2 separate regions of the Homo sapiens genome follow, and region 2 is linked to region 1. Evidence: promoter capture Hi-C in 16 types of primary human blood cells and fetal thymus (Javierre and others, 2016). All regions are on one chromosome and are shown on one strand. The core of a region is centred on a gene start or on the middle of the fragment in contact, and the rest is flanking DNA. Distances in the headings are between cores, read along the strand shown.

Region 1 (7,333 bases), core at 2,462-4,961:
TCCCCTCTCTGGGGGTCCACTGTGGGGTAGAGATGGGGTCATGGTGAGTAAGCAGAAAAAGAGTGAGACTCCAGGGTCTGCTTGTGATATGGAAAGATCCAGAAGCTCCTCAGCTAATGGCAGCTGAGGGGCTTGGCTGTCAAAGTGGGCAATGGGGTGGCAAAGTGACAAACTTTCCCTTCTTCCCTGCTCTCCACTGGGAAGGAGAGGCTGGGAGCAAGTCTTGGACCTCTGGAGCCTTTGTACACCTGTGGTGTCTAGCACTGTGCTTTTCCACAGGTTGCTTTCTGTTGGGTAGGACCCCTACCCACAAGGGCCATGTTGCATGGTATGGGCCTTCTCCTTTTCCACACCACAATACACCCACATCAAGAGCATACTGACTTCAAGACAGCCCCGATGGTAAACAAACAAACAAAACAACAACCCTGAGTTCTTATTATGATCAAGAGTTTGGGCCAGGGCTTTGCGGGAGGGACTAGGAAAGTCTTCACTCATTTGGGGCCCTGGCATGTATGTCTCCTCTGATTCTTCAATGTACTTCCTCTAAACTTCTCTTGAGAACTTGAGTTTGAAAGTTATATCTCTGTGTCCTTAGATCCTGAATAGTCAATATCTTGAGTGCTACTGCTGCTGCTGATGATGTTGGAGAAGACAACCTCCTTGAGTGCTTAATACATGCCTGGCACTTTCTAAGCATTAATCTTTGTGATAACTCTAAGTTCTATTATTACCCCCACTTTGTAGGTGAGGAAACTGAGGCACAGAGCCATGGAGTAACTTGCCAAGAGCACAGAGCCCTAACCGGCAGGGGCTAGGCCAATCCCAGGCAGTGAAACTCCAGGGCCTCCACCCTTACGCTGTGTCTGATCTCACTTTGTGTCTTTATGGGGCCTGGCAGATAACAGGTGCTCAGCAAAGATTATGCTTCTAAGAATCATCACCCTTCCTACAGATAGGTTATGACTGTAAAGCTCTGGTCAATGGATCTCTCTCTTTGGACTTGATTACTTTTTTTTTAGGCTTTCCTGTTAGTTTTGTCTACCCCATCACGCTGTCCAGCCTGCAGCTGGAGCTCTGGGAGAGTAGATGCTCTGAGGTCTCACCCTCAACTTGGCCTCTGACAGGTTCCCTGCCCAGCCAAACTGCCATCACCAGTAGACAAGCTTCCTGGTAATCCTCACATTGAATTCATGTGATGCATGGATGAGGTATCAACATCAGTCCTGTCCTGGAGCCTGAGGAGTGAACCCAATGATCCCTGAGACCCTTCTAGTCTTCAAAGTCCACACTGACCAGAGTGGTTTTAAAATATTCATCATCTTCTTTAACTAGTCTCAGAAAATAATACTCCAAAATATGAACATTCCCACTTTCAGGCCCATGCACACTCTACACACTTTTCCAGGGCCAGTTCAAATGATATCTCCTCCTCCAGGAAGCCTTCCTTGCTTATCTGGCTGAAATTGAACTTCTCTTGTTTGAACACCCAGCCCTTGGTTTCCCCAAGCCATTCACTCCCTGGTGCCTCTGTTTAGCTTTCCCTGGCCTTGGCTTATTCTCAGTTACAGGCAGGACCCAGATTGCACACACGCTAGGGCCCCACCCCCAGCTCCTTGCAAGCAGATGTCATTGTTCCAACATTGATTGATATGTTTAATGAATCCCATATTTCAAGAATGCAACTGACCAGACATAACTCAGGAGTGGTTTTCGCCATATAAGCGGAGCTCTGAGTCACAAATCCTGTGTCTTCAGAGGTCCTTTAATGTCATTCTCTGCCCCCTCCTCCTTGAGTAGCAACAACATTAACAACCATTGATTAAAGCCTACTGTGCACCCAGCCCTGTGTTAAGGGCCTTTCTTACAGTGCCTTAGTGCATCCTGACAACTTTACAGGACACGGAATTTGTGTCTCCATTCTTCACATAAGGAAACCTGTTGGAAAGGTCGCATAACCAGTCCAAGATTGAACAGCTAGCAGGGTGCAGAGCCAGAAGTGGAAGCCAGGTCTGATTCCAAAGCCATTGCTCTTAGCTTCCTGAGGTCCAGGCTGTCCCTAGCCCCTAAGGCAGCCACTCCTTCCCAAGGTTCTGATGCAGCCACCTATCTGGAGTCACACAGGAGTGCGTCTCTTTTCTTGTGGCTGGATCTCCTAGTGATATGAGGACAGTTCCTGGAGAAGATTCTCCCCTCCTGTCTAAACACACCTAAATGGGCTTGGCCTCCTCCCGCAGCTGGCTTCTAGTTGCATATTGGCCTGGTGGCAGTTCTTCCCCTGCTCTCCCTTCCAAGCCCCCACAACTCAATGTATCAATGATTGTTTTAAACTGTGACTCTAGGATTCCACTAGCCAGAGGCCCTTTCAACCATGGGCCCTCTGAGAAGCTCCTCTGTAGGCCGACAGGAGGGTGGACTTGCTTCGCGTGGTACCCGGGGACTGGGGCAAGCGGCTGCGGGATAGGGGTCTCCACCTGAGCTCCCTGAGGGCACCTCTCCCACTACCACCGCATCTGACCCCCACTACTGGCCCCAGCTCGGGCCTGGAGCCCACGCAGAAGGGGAGGCAAGGTTGAGCGCCCACACCCGGCCAGTAACCGAGGCGCTGGCCCTTGCCGGAGCACTTGGCCGTCTTCCGCAGAACAGCATCACTGGCAGCCGCCCCGCGTGGAGGGTGGAGCCGGGGAGCCCGGTGTGGGACGGCCGGGGCCAGGGTACCCTAGGGCGGAGAGCTCAGGGCTGGCTTCCCGCTCCCAGCCGCGCGCCCCTCGGGCCGGAGGTTCCTGCCGCGCCCCGACACCTGGAGTGCATTAGGCGGCGGCGCGCGTCTAGGCGACGGCGGCTTTCCCCAGATTATTGAATAATTGCATAATTCCGAGCGCGGGTTGGGAGGCAATGCCGGGTCCCTACCCCGGGTGTCAGGTAACGTTTCGGGGGTCCTGCGCTGCGCGACTGTGTCCCGCCGCTGCTGGCCGGGCAGACGAGAGCTAGCCCCCGCCTACCGGCCATCGCCCCGGGGCTTTGCTCTGTCTTTGGCCGGAGGCACTCTGCGCAGCCCTCACCCCCACCCTTCAGCCCTCCGGGGCCGCCGCGCCCGGCTCTCCAAACTTTGAGATGCTTCCCCGGAGCCAGGCAGGAGGGCAGCCAGGGCACACTCTCTTGGCGCTGATTCCCTTCCCCAGCCGGGGCCGTGCGCCCTCGGCGCTCCCGGGACACCCGAGTGCCCCTGGCAGCCGTGCGGGAACCCCGGCATGGGCCTTGGAGGCACCTAAGGCGCCCAGGAGGGCCACCAGATCTGGGAGCTTTTCAACTCAAGCCTCTTCAACTCTTCCCAAACACACCAAAGAGTCCCGGCTTTCAATAGCCTTCGCACCTCCCTCTTTAGCGAAACTTGACTGAACCGCTAGACTGGGGCCAGTCCCTGGGGGACCCACGTCCCCAAGAGCAGCTGAGGTCTGACCCTGGGAGGAGGGTCGCGTCCCGATCCTGGCCGCTGGATCCAAGCCCCGAGGGCCCAGGGAGGGACTCCGAGAGGCAAGGGGAGGCAGAGGGTGGGCACCTACCTGGCCACAGGCTGAGCGCCCAGGCCACCACCAGGCCCCTGGGCAGGTCCATGGCCCGCGGCACGGCGGCTGGGTCCGGTGTGCAGCGGCGGCGGGGGGCGGCAAGCCAGAGCGGCAGCCTCCTCGGCGCGGCGCCTGCAGCCTGCACTGCGCGGGGCGCCGGGCTCCCTGACAGCTGCGGCTCATTCAGAGGAAGTGGGAGGGCTCGAGCGGAGGGGAGGGGCGCCGGACACCACTCCGGCTCGGGCTCTGGGCCAGTCTCGGCCGCTCTGCCACCTGGGCAGGCGGCGCGCTGCCTCGACGCGCCTGTGCAGCGCTCCTTCTCCGCCAACCCCACGTCAGCCTCTGGAGAAAACTCCAGAGAACCGCTCCTGGGAACCCCCTCACCAGTGTAGCACCGCACCGCCTCAGTCAGATTCTGTTCAGGAAAAGTGGTTTTTATTCCCATTTCCCAGTGAAAAGAGATTCACAAAACTCAGAGGGTACCCAAGCTGGCTCAGGAACACCTGCTGGAACGCAGGTCTCCCTTGGCCAAGTGAGTGGATGTCCCTCAAAGGTCCATTCTAAGACATCCCCGTGTCTCCCTGCACCCTGCGGCTTGAATTGTAGAGGCTAGTGTTTCTTCTGACCCTGGAATACATGCAGATTCGCCTCCACTGCCACTCCCTGAGCCTCCACACCTGAGGCATTCCAAAGCACCCAGGGACACCGTGCACCCCCTCTTAACCTAACGTGAAGCTCTTCTTTGTAACCCTGCCACCTTCTTTCCCTCTTCTAATCACTGGTAGTTAAATTCAATGCACATTTATCTCAAGAGCTTTAAATCCAGGCCCCGGACCTCCACCGCGCTTGTGGAGGCTTTTCCAGCAATGGAGGAAGCCGAGGCAGAGGGTAGGAAGGCCAAGATGCAGGGAAAGCCACAGCAGAGCGCCCTTCCCCCACTTTCTCAGGAAAGGCTTCCTTCACCCCCTCTTCCCGTCCCCACCAGGTTGAGTCCCAGACACATGCTGATATTCCCCAGCCCGCTCTCCCTCATTTCTCTTCATTGTGCTTAGTAGAGAAGCAAGGCATCAATTGGTGTGATCATTTAACTTTTCTCTCCTGTGCAGACTGAAAACACCATCAGGGTAGAAATCTCTGGTTCACAATGGAGTACTCAGCCCCTAACACCCAGGAACAAAGTAGGTGGGCGGGTGGATGGATGGGTGAGTACAGGTGGTGTGTGGGTGCACAAAGGATAGAGTTTTCTATCTGGGAGGTATTGGAAGGGCTTCCCAGAGGAGGTGATGTTCAGTCAGGGCCCCTGAAGATGAGCTGGAGTTTGAGAAGACCCAGGTTCACATAAGTGAAGTGGGCTTGTGCTCGTCTCCCAACCTCACTATCTTTCGGTTGGCTATCTGGGTTTTACTTCATCTTCACCTCACCCATTCAGCCACAGACTCGGGGAAGGTGATTCCGTCCCTGGTGTGTGTGTGTGTGTGTGTGTGTGTGTAAGGAGGCATGCGGTTCAGGCTGAAATGAATCAGTATGTTGCCCTTCCCAGCCCATCGTTTCAGAAAGGGCAATATGACAAAAGAAAAAGTTTTTTTGGGAAGCAAGCTTTCTTGCCTTTCTAAAAGAGCCCCTAGAACAAACAAACAAATGAACTAACTCTCTCTCCTCACCTCTCCCACTCCTGCCTCCTCTCCCAGCCTGGGACAAGGAACTTTGTAGGCTCAGAAGTTGACAGGGTCAGGGTAGGGAAGGAGGATCTGGCCTTGAGATGAGGTGGACACTGGATGACAGAATGGAGGATCTTGTTGAACTCCTGAATGAAGCCACCCCTTAACCCCACTCCCCTTGGGACTTATCAGTTATACGACAGTGAGTCCTCTTCACTGAGTTGAGTTTAAGCCAGCTGAGTTGAATGTAGAACACCCCTACAGCTAGGGAATGGGCTGCAGCCCACATTCCTGCCTTGCACAAATCTCCAGGTGCATCAGAACGACCTGGAGCACGTGCAAAGAATGCAAATTCCCCAAGGATCAGGGCATGCTGGTGGGTGCCCCAGGCACCTCTGACGTGTGGGTGGTCTGCAGCTTGTGCTCAGAGTCTGCATGCTGCTTGCTGAAGGGGCGCACTGTAGTGGCTGTCCTAGCTGCGCTGCTGCTGGTCTCGCTGGTAACAATTCTACCATTCATTCACCTTCACCGTCCTCACAGGTGCCTGGGGAATGGGGGTCCTGAGGATCACTCTGTGTGCTTTTGTGTAATGTGGGAGGGTGAGGGGAGAGGTGTGCCCTCATTTGTTCTTTCAACAGATCCTACAGAGTGCCTACTGTGCCCCTGTGCTCTGTAGGACACACGGAAGGAGAACCCCACACTAGGGCAGCTGGTGATGGAGCTGAGGAGACAAGACATAACCATGTATTTATTTAATCATAATCTGTTATTTATTAATCTATTTAAAACCATTTATTATTTCATCACTATTAAACATTATTTAAATCACACCCAAGGCAGCAGCATATGAGTGACAAGTGCACAATCCAGACTCTAAGGCTGGAGAACTGCAGAGAATTTGGTGAAGGGCTTTATGAAAGCTGTGATTTCTGTTGAATAATAATAATAACTCTTTACATGTACACAGTGTTTTAACTGATTTATTTATTCACATGCCATAAACTGTGCCATAGAATCCAGTAGTTGTTAGTATATTCACAAGATTGTAAAATCATCCTCACTAATTTCACAATATTTTTATCACCCCAAAAAGAAGCCCTGTAACCATGAGCAGTCACTCCCCATTCCTTCCCACCAGTCCCTGGCAACCACAAATCTATTTCTATGGATTTGCCTATTCTGGACGTTGCATATAAATGAAATCATATAATACGTGACCTTTTGAGTCTGGCTTCTTTCCCTTAGCATGATGTTTCCAAGGTTCATCCATGTTGCAACATGTATCAGTATTTCATTCCTTTTTATTGCCAAGTAACATTCCATTGTATGGATCTACCCCCTTTTGTTTATCCATTCATCAGGTGAGGCTTATTTAGGTGTTTCCACTTTAGGTTATTGTGAATAATGTGGCTATGAACACTTGTGCTGCCGGTCTTGCTGGTAGCAGTTCTACCATCCATTAACATAGCATAATGTTAGCATAATGTTCATACAAGTTTTTGTATGAATGTATGTTTTCAGTTCTCTTGGGTATACACCTAGGAGTGGAATTGCTGATCATATAGTAATTTTATGTTTAATCATTTGAGGAACTGCCAAACTATTTTCCACAGTTGCTACATCATTTTAGATTCCTACCAACAATGTACAAGTGCTATGTATAGTGTTTTACTATTTTTGAAATCCCTTTCATATCCATGATCTAATTTAATACTCATCTTGTACAAAATTGTATTTATTTTTTATAGTAAAGAGATTGTATAGTTGAAGATTCTTTCACTTGCAAGTGACAGAAATTCAACACAATCAAACTGAAGCAGAAAATAGAATGTAAAAGGTCATGTAACTAGGAAGTGCAAAGGTGTTCTGTCTGCAGGTGTGGCTGGATCAAGGGTCTCAAATCAATGTTACTGCTCTCTCTCTGTCTTCTCTTAGTTTTGCTTCACTCCATTTTCCTTTCCTGCAGCAGAAGAGTTTCTCTGACTGTCTAGCAGTCCCAAGCTTATACTTCATAGATTCTGAAGGGAGAGAGACAGCCTTCCTTTAGTAGATCCAGCAGAAAAGTCTAGGGCTTTGGTTCATGCCCACCCCTGAACCAGTCCTAGTGTC
Region 2 (7,333 bases), core at 1,445-3,944, 470 kb after region 1:
ATGGCAATACTGCTGTCATACTCAAAATTAAAAAATTCCTTAATATTGCCGGGCTTGGTGGCTCACGTCTGTAATCCCAGCACTTTGGGAGGCCGAGGCGGGTGGATCATGAGGTCAGGAAATCGAGACCATCCTGGCTAACACGGTGAAACCCTGTCTCTTTTAAAAATACAAAAAATTAGCCACGCGTGGTGGCAGGTGCCTGTGGTCCCAGCTACTCGGGAGGCTGAGGCAGGAGAATGGCGTGAACCCGGGAGGTGGAGCTTGCAGTGAGCCAAGATTGCGCCACTGCACTCCAGCCCGGGCGACAAAGCGAGACTCCGTCTCAAAAAAAAAAAAAAAAAAAAAAAAAAAAATTCCTTAATATCATCAAATTCCCAGTCAATGTTCAAATTTATAATTGCTTCAAATGTCATTATCTTACAGTTTACTTGAATCAGGATCCAAATAAGGTCTCTATATTGCCATTAGTTGAAACAACTCTACTAACTTAAATGTCTATGCTCTATCTCTCTTTTTTTTTTTTTTTTTTGATGGAGTCTCACTCTGTCACCCAGGCTGGAGTGCAGTGGTGCTATCTGGGCTCACTGCAACCTCTGCCTCCCAGGTTCAAGCGATTCTCCCCGCCTCAGCCTCTCAGGTAGCTGAGATTACAGGTGCACACCACCATGCCCAGCTAATTTTGTATTTTTTGTAGAGATTGGGTTTCACCATGTTAGCTAGGCTGGTCTCGAACTCCCGACCCCAGGTGATCTGCCCGCATCGGTCTCCCAAAGTGCTGGGATTTCAGGCGTGAGCCACTGCACCCGGCCTATTCTCTTTCTTTCATGTGAGAATCCCAGTTCTCATGACACTGGGGTGGTAGAATTAGAAGATCATACAACTACTCATTTGCTGTATTCTACAGTGTGCATGTGCGTGCACACACACACACACACACGCACACGCACACACAATGTTTCAGAGTAACAATACCAACACTACACCAATAATAAGATTATAGAAAAGAGTTTATGATTTTTGGGGGTAGTTTTCCTTATACATTAAGGATATTTTATAGGGATGAATAGTCAAATCAATTTTGTTTAAAGTCACTTGGAGTTAGTTACTATCTGTTTGATTATGGGACCAACTTGCTACCTATTTAGGTTACATGCAGTTTGAATATTCACCAGTAAACCTAGGAATAATTATCACTGTTCAGAAAATCACCAATAGTTACCGAGCACCTCCGAGGTACTAGAAATGTTCATGATCATTGTTACACTCAAGTCTTGCAAAGCCCTATGAAATAGAAGTTACTTTTCCCTTATAATTTAGGAAACAAACTCAAAGAGGTTAAAAGCTTACAGTGAATCAGTCTCACAGCTAGTAAGAAGAATGAGTGAGGTAAGATTGAAATTCCAGTCTCTGGAGTCCATATTCTGCCCTTAGAAAGATTAGGATGATTTATGATAGCTTATAGAAAAAGCTGCTGGTTCTATTTATTTTATTACCTCTATATATTCCAGTAGGGAGACAAGGTGGTAACTGATAACTGTGTTATACCTGATTACAAAGGTGATAATTTTTTTCTTACAGATTTATGCTCAGAAACAGTGCACCTGACAGTGTTAGCTGGTTTTCTCTAACTTCTTTTTCTGGGGCAATTCTCCCAATGGGTTTGAATTTTTATGAGCTTACTGATGGGCTTAAAAGGGTGGCCTTCAATATTTCCTTCCATTCAGGGCCTATTGTGTCCTGGGCTTCAAATTCACAGAGGCCCTTAAATTTAGAATTTGGACCTTACATCCATCCCAAAGAGGTTCTATCTGTGATCACAGAGATAAACCAACAAGGACAGAAGAAAGAGATGTGCAACTTACAGCTTCAGCGTTGGATCCCATTAGTGGAAGGCACTGCTGGTAGGTAGAATACCATCATTATGGTATTCACAGGATATTTACAGGATTTATAAAAGTAGTGATGAATCACTGATCTCACTTTATTTTTTATAAATCCTGTAAATATCCTGTGAATTCCATAATGATGATGAATTATATATTTTGATGGAGTTTAAAAAGTGTCAGCTTATTAAATGTAAGCATCTCAAATACATAATGATTTTTGTAACCCTATTTTATCATTTCTATAATGTCTAAAATATCAGGAGTTGCAAGCAATGGAAGTATCTGGTGACTTAGGGCAGCTGAGAAGCTCTGTCTGCTTCCACTTGGCCCTGAGCACTTCTGTGGACAAAGCACTCTGACCTGACAGGGTGCTGGTTACACATTGGCTGAGTTTGTGGCTATTTCTAGGGAGCAGAGTCTGGCTCTTTCCTCATTTACCTGTACAATAAGAATACCCGCCTGACAGGGGAGAGGTGAGGATTCAGTAAGCACAGCACAAGTCTCTAGTAAAAGAAAGCTGTCATGAGGATGATAACAGTTAATGAGAACATGTTGTTCAGGAGGTTTTAAAGGGCAGATACAGCATGATCCTGATTTTTAAGAAAATTAGATATAAAAACATGGGCACATGAAAAAGCCCCAACAGGCTACAGACTGAAATATTTATAATGGTAGTGGGAATAAAGGTGAATTTTGCTTTTTCCATGTATTTGTCTGTTTTAATTTTTTCGCAATATACTTATACTAAATGATGATACTTATTTTGTTTATGTGGATATACATAAATCTACAGACATACAAAATTATGGATAATTTTTCTTTTGTCTTTCTAAATTTATAAAATTTCTCACTTAAATATGTGCAAGTTCTATAATTAGAACAAAGAGATCAAAGGCATTTTTAAGACAAGGAGAAGCAGCTGGGTATCATGGCTCATAATTGTAATCCTAGCACTTTGGGAGGTCAAGATGGGAGACCACTGGAGCTCAGGAGTTTGAGACCAGCTTGGGCAACATAGGGAGACTGTGTCTCTACATAAAAGCAAAAAACTTAGCCAGGCATGGTGGCATGCATCTACAGTCCCAGCTACTTCGAAGGCAGAGGCAGGAGGATTGCTTGAGCCCAGGAGTCGGAGGCTGCAGTGAGCTGAGATGGTGCTACTGCACTCCAGCCTGGGTGACAGGGTGAGACTTCATCTGTAAAAAAATGATAAAAGACTGGGAGAAGAGCCTGGCTGGGTTTTAAGCCTACCTGGGGACATGGCTGCATTGTTTCTGAGAAACACAAAGAGCCTGCTCAGCACCTGCCATCATCTCAACCAGAAAGCCCACTCCAGATGCTGTCTTGTCAGTGGCTCAGTCAGTGCACCTTTGATTTATGATGAATTCCCCAGTGTTTACAGACTGGTGAATGCAGAACAATTTCTCCCCATTAGAAGGAGTCATGGTGTGGCAAGTTCAGATTAGTTTCTCTTCTATGGAGTTTCATTCTTTCATGAAATGTGGTCTTGCTTCACACTGTGAGGGAGTTTGGTGCCTCTCTCGGCCTGGGTCACCTGCTAGTGTGTGTTTGGCACTAGAAAGAGGCTCTCAGGGAAAGGGTTCCTGACTGCATCCTTCCTTCCTTGCCCCTTCTCTCTCTCCATGCTCTCCAAGAAAATATTTACCACCCTTGAGGCCTCCTACTACCATTAGGAAAAAGATTGATAAAACGATGACTTTAAAATTAAGAAGTTCTGCTTATCTAAAGAGTTCATAAAGAGATTAATAACACAAACCACAGAATAGAAGTAGAAGCTATTTGGTAATACATATAACCAACAAAGGACTCTTATCCAGAAAATACATGTTTAAAAAAAAACACTAAAAATTATTAAGTAAGACATAACCCAACAAAAATTCCAGAAGTGGTGGGCAAGGCCAGAAACTCAGACAAATGATGTTGGTACCAAGACCAGGCTACACAGTGGCTGGACCAGCAGCTGGTAATCATGCAGACCCATGCTCAGCCTTTTCGCAGCGAGATGGAGCAAGTGCTGTGAGTGCTGGAGATGTTGGCATGCTGAGGATCTTACAGGCAGAGGATCCAAAGAGCTCGCTAGAACTGGTCGCAGAAGCCCCAGCCAGATTCTTAATGCCTTTAATTTTCCAGGGAAGAAGCTTCTCCATCACTGAACTGTTTCCATATTATAGATACTGTAATATCTATGGGTTTTCCTAATACTCATCTTTGTATTAGCTGGCGTTTTTACCCAACCAGGAAAGGAGTGGAGCCATGAAGCAGTGAGTGCCCAGAACTGGAAGAATTCTGAAGGAGATGGGACTGTGGACCATGTTCTCTCTCAGGCTAACATCTTAATAACAGCCTACTCTGTTCCAACCAGAAAGAATGAGAGAGGAAGGGAAGACGAACAGACAGAGACAGATGGACACATACTTATGAAGTGCCCACTGTGCTCAAGGAATTTGCTAGGGGCTTTCACATTTGTTGTTCACTTTGCTTCTTGTAACACTCCATTCTGTTGATGAGACGGGAGCCTCAGGAGAAATACATGGCTTGCTCAAGTTTAGTTTGTCAGTGATGTAGTTGGGATCTGATCTCAGGGTCTGTCTCATTTTTTTTTTGAGATGGAGTCCTGCTTTGTTGCCCCAGTTAGAGCGCAGTGGTGCAATCTCGGTTCACTGCAACCTCCGCCTCCCTGGTTCAAGTAATTCTCCTGCCTCAGCCTCCCAAGTAGCTGGGATTACAGGTGCCTGCTACACCACCTGGCTAATTTTTATATTTTTAGTAGAGACAGGGTTTCACCATGTTGGCAGGCTGGTCTCAAACTCCTGACCTCAAGTGACCCGCCCGCCTCAGCCTCCCAAAGTGCTGGGATTACAGGTGTGAGCCACTGCGCCTGGCCCTGTGACTCATTTTTCTAATTCCATGGCCTTGGAATCAGGTGTGTGTGAGCTTGGGTAATTATTTACCTCTGTGAGCTCAAGGCCCCTCTGTGAAATGATATCTGGCTAGTAGGAGCACCCTTGCAGGACTCTGCGCATGATGTACAGTAGTTGGTTTTACTGTAAATGTACTCAAATCCTTAGCACAGGATCAGGTACACTGAAGACAGTGAAGAGAAGGGAGTTAAACACTTTTGAAGTCATATTTTCTTTTCTCAGGTTCAACCACTCTGCTAGGAGAGAAAGGCAGAGAACAGGATAAGAAGATTGAGAGAGAGAGGTTGATTGTGAGGACGTAGTGTCTGGGACACATATATTTGGTCACAGAGTCATGACTTGAGGGGTGGCACGCTGAGAAGTTGCCTGTCTTACTCTCTGAGACTGAGCAGCTAAGATAGAAGGCTGAATATTGACTTGGGACAATACAGTCATGAGTTGCTTAACAAGAAGCCTATGTTCTGAGAAATATGGTGTTAGGCAATTTCATCACTGTGCAAACATCATAGAGTGTACGGTACTTACACAAACCTACACAGCATAGCCTACTACACACCTAGGCTGTATACTATAGCCTATCACTCCTAGGTTTGTAAACCTGTACAACATGTTACTGTACTGAATACTGCAGGCAGTTGTAACACAATGGTAAGTATTTGTGAATCTAAACATATCATTAAAAGGTACAGTAAAATATGGTATTTATAACATATTTTATAAAAATATGATGGTTTCTACCCTGGACTAGCTAAGAGATCTGAGGCTAGCAACTGTCCACAAACCTCCTCCCTCTTCCCCCAACCAAAGCCAAAAATATCTTACCCACCATTTCTTAAAACAAAACAGCCTGCAAAACCATTCAGCATTCTGCAGTAGAAAACACAAAACTCAGGTTGCCCCATTGAAGAAGGCCAGAAATCTTTGGAACATCACCCACTTAGGAGCATCCTGCCTCTGCTATTCACTGCCAGAAGTTATTTTACAAAGCCAAGCTTCTGTAGACCGTTCACAGCATGGGCTGGCCTTAATGGAGAGCTGGGCAAGGAAAATTCCCTCCTTCGAGCCTGGGCTGAGGAAAACCTCACCTGAGGAATGAGGGCCATTCTTGTTTATTATGATTGAATCACTATGCATATTACTTTCATATGTAATGCATTTGCCATTCTGAAGTATGCAGTGGGGATGGGGGTACTCCCACTTAGCCAAATCAAAACCCAGGTCCCAAGATTCTCAGTAGAAGAGATGGGCTCCCTTCACTCGGGAGGTCCCAGGGTGGCTGCAAGTACTCTCCTTGTACTATTAGGGTTGTTTTGGCACCTCCTCTTGGCAAACCCTAACAGAGACACTGTCTTTGTTTCTCAATCCCTGCTACAGACTGAAATTATCTGGGAAATTAAAAAAATATATATGATGACAAGCCGCTACCTCCAGCTATTCTGACTTAATACATTTGCATTGAAGACAAGGATTTGGGGTTAAAAAAAACTCCCCAGGTGATTGTGATGTGCACCCAAGTCAGAACCAAGTGCTATACCGATTTCATGTAAAATTGTTGATTGATTTATGTCTTCCACTTCTTGAGCTCCTGGTATATGCCAGGCACTGAAGCACTAATGAACAGAAACAGGCAAGGCTCTTACTCTCATAAACATTACAGATATTCGTCAGATAATTACATAAGCAAATAATTTGGAATTATAAAAGTACATGGTGCTTGGGGCTGGGCGTTGGTGGTGCACGCCTGTAATCCCAGCACTCTGGGAGGCGAAGACGGGTAGATCACTTGAGGTCAGGAGTTCGAGACCAGTCTGGCCAACATGGTGAAACCCCATCTCTACTAAAAATACAAAAATTAGCCGGGTTTGGTGGTGGGCGCCTGTAATCCCAGCTACTCAGGAGGCTGAGGCAGGAGAATTGCATGAACCTAGGAGGTGGAGGTTGCAGTGAGCTGATAGTGCCACTGCACTCCAGCCTGAGTGATAGAGCAAGACTCTGTCTCAAAAAAATAAAAAAATGTACATGGTGCTTGGGCAGATAGGGAGGGAAGGGGTAAGAGGATTAGAAAAGTGATCCATTAGAAGCTCCCTGGTGTACCTCTCTCTTTCCAATACTCACTCACCAAGGGATAGCCATATATCTGACTGACCAATGTCTATCTCCCAATAATTCCATGGGAAATAACTCCTATTTTCCAGTAATAGGAGAATGAATAAAATATGAAAAATGTAGACTCTAGGGACTTTCAAAAGAGACAAAACCCATTGTGAGGAAAGAATATGTTATTCATGTATCATGTACTAAATAATTAAAACAGCCAAACACAGGGCTCACACCTATAATCTCAGCACTTTGGGAGACCAAGGCAGGAGGATTGCTTGAGCCCAGGAGTTCGAGACCAGCCTAGAGAGCCCCTGTCTCTACAAAACACAAAAATTGGCTAGGCGTAGTGGTACATGCCTGTAGTCCCTGCTACTTGGAAGGCTGAGGTGGGAGGATCACTTG

Evidence for each region. The method cuts DNA at HindIII sites, captures the fragments that hold promoters and counts their contacts. A CHiCAGO score of 5 or more calls a contact.
Region 2: a fragment that was not itself captured here is called in contact with the fragment with the promoter of ITGA11 in region 1 in 1 of 17 cell types (M1 macrophages); the score reaches 6.8 in M1 macrophages.

Annotation. Positions count from the first base shown.
Region 1 is chr15:68,428,452-68,435,784 of GRCh38, forward strand. ITGA11 (integrin subunit alpha 11) reads right to left here and starts at 3,712. Exons shown (of 30, transcript NM_001004439.2): 1 at 3,564-3,712. The coding sequence starts at 3,615. RefSeq lists an enhancer at 2,113-2,872 and a silencer at 5,419-5,713. The HindIII fragment of the contact is 3,996 bases long and covers 1,165-5,160 here.
Region 2 is chr15:68,894,916-68,902,248 of GRCh38, forward strand. No RefSeq gene overlaps it. Among named protein-coding and RNA genes, the nearest start is that of SPESP1, 32 kb to the right of the region's middle. The HindIII fragment of the contact is 2,703 bases long and covers 1,344-4,046 here.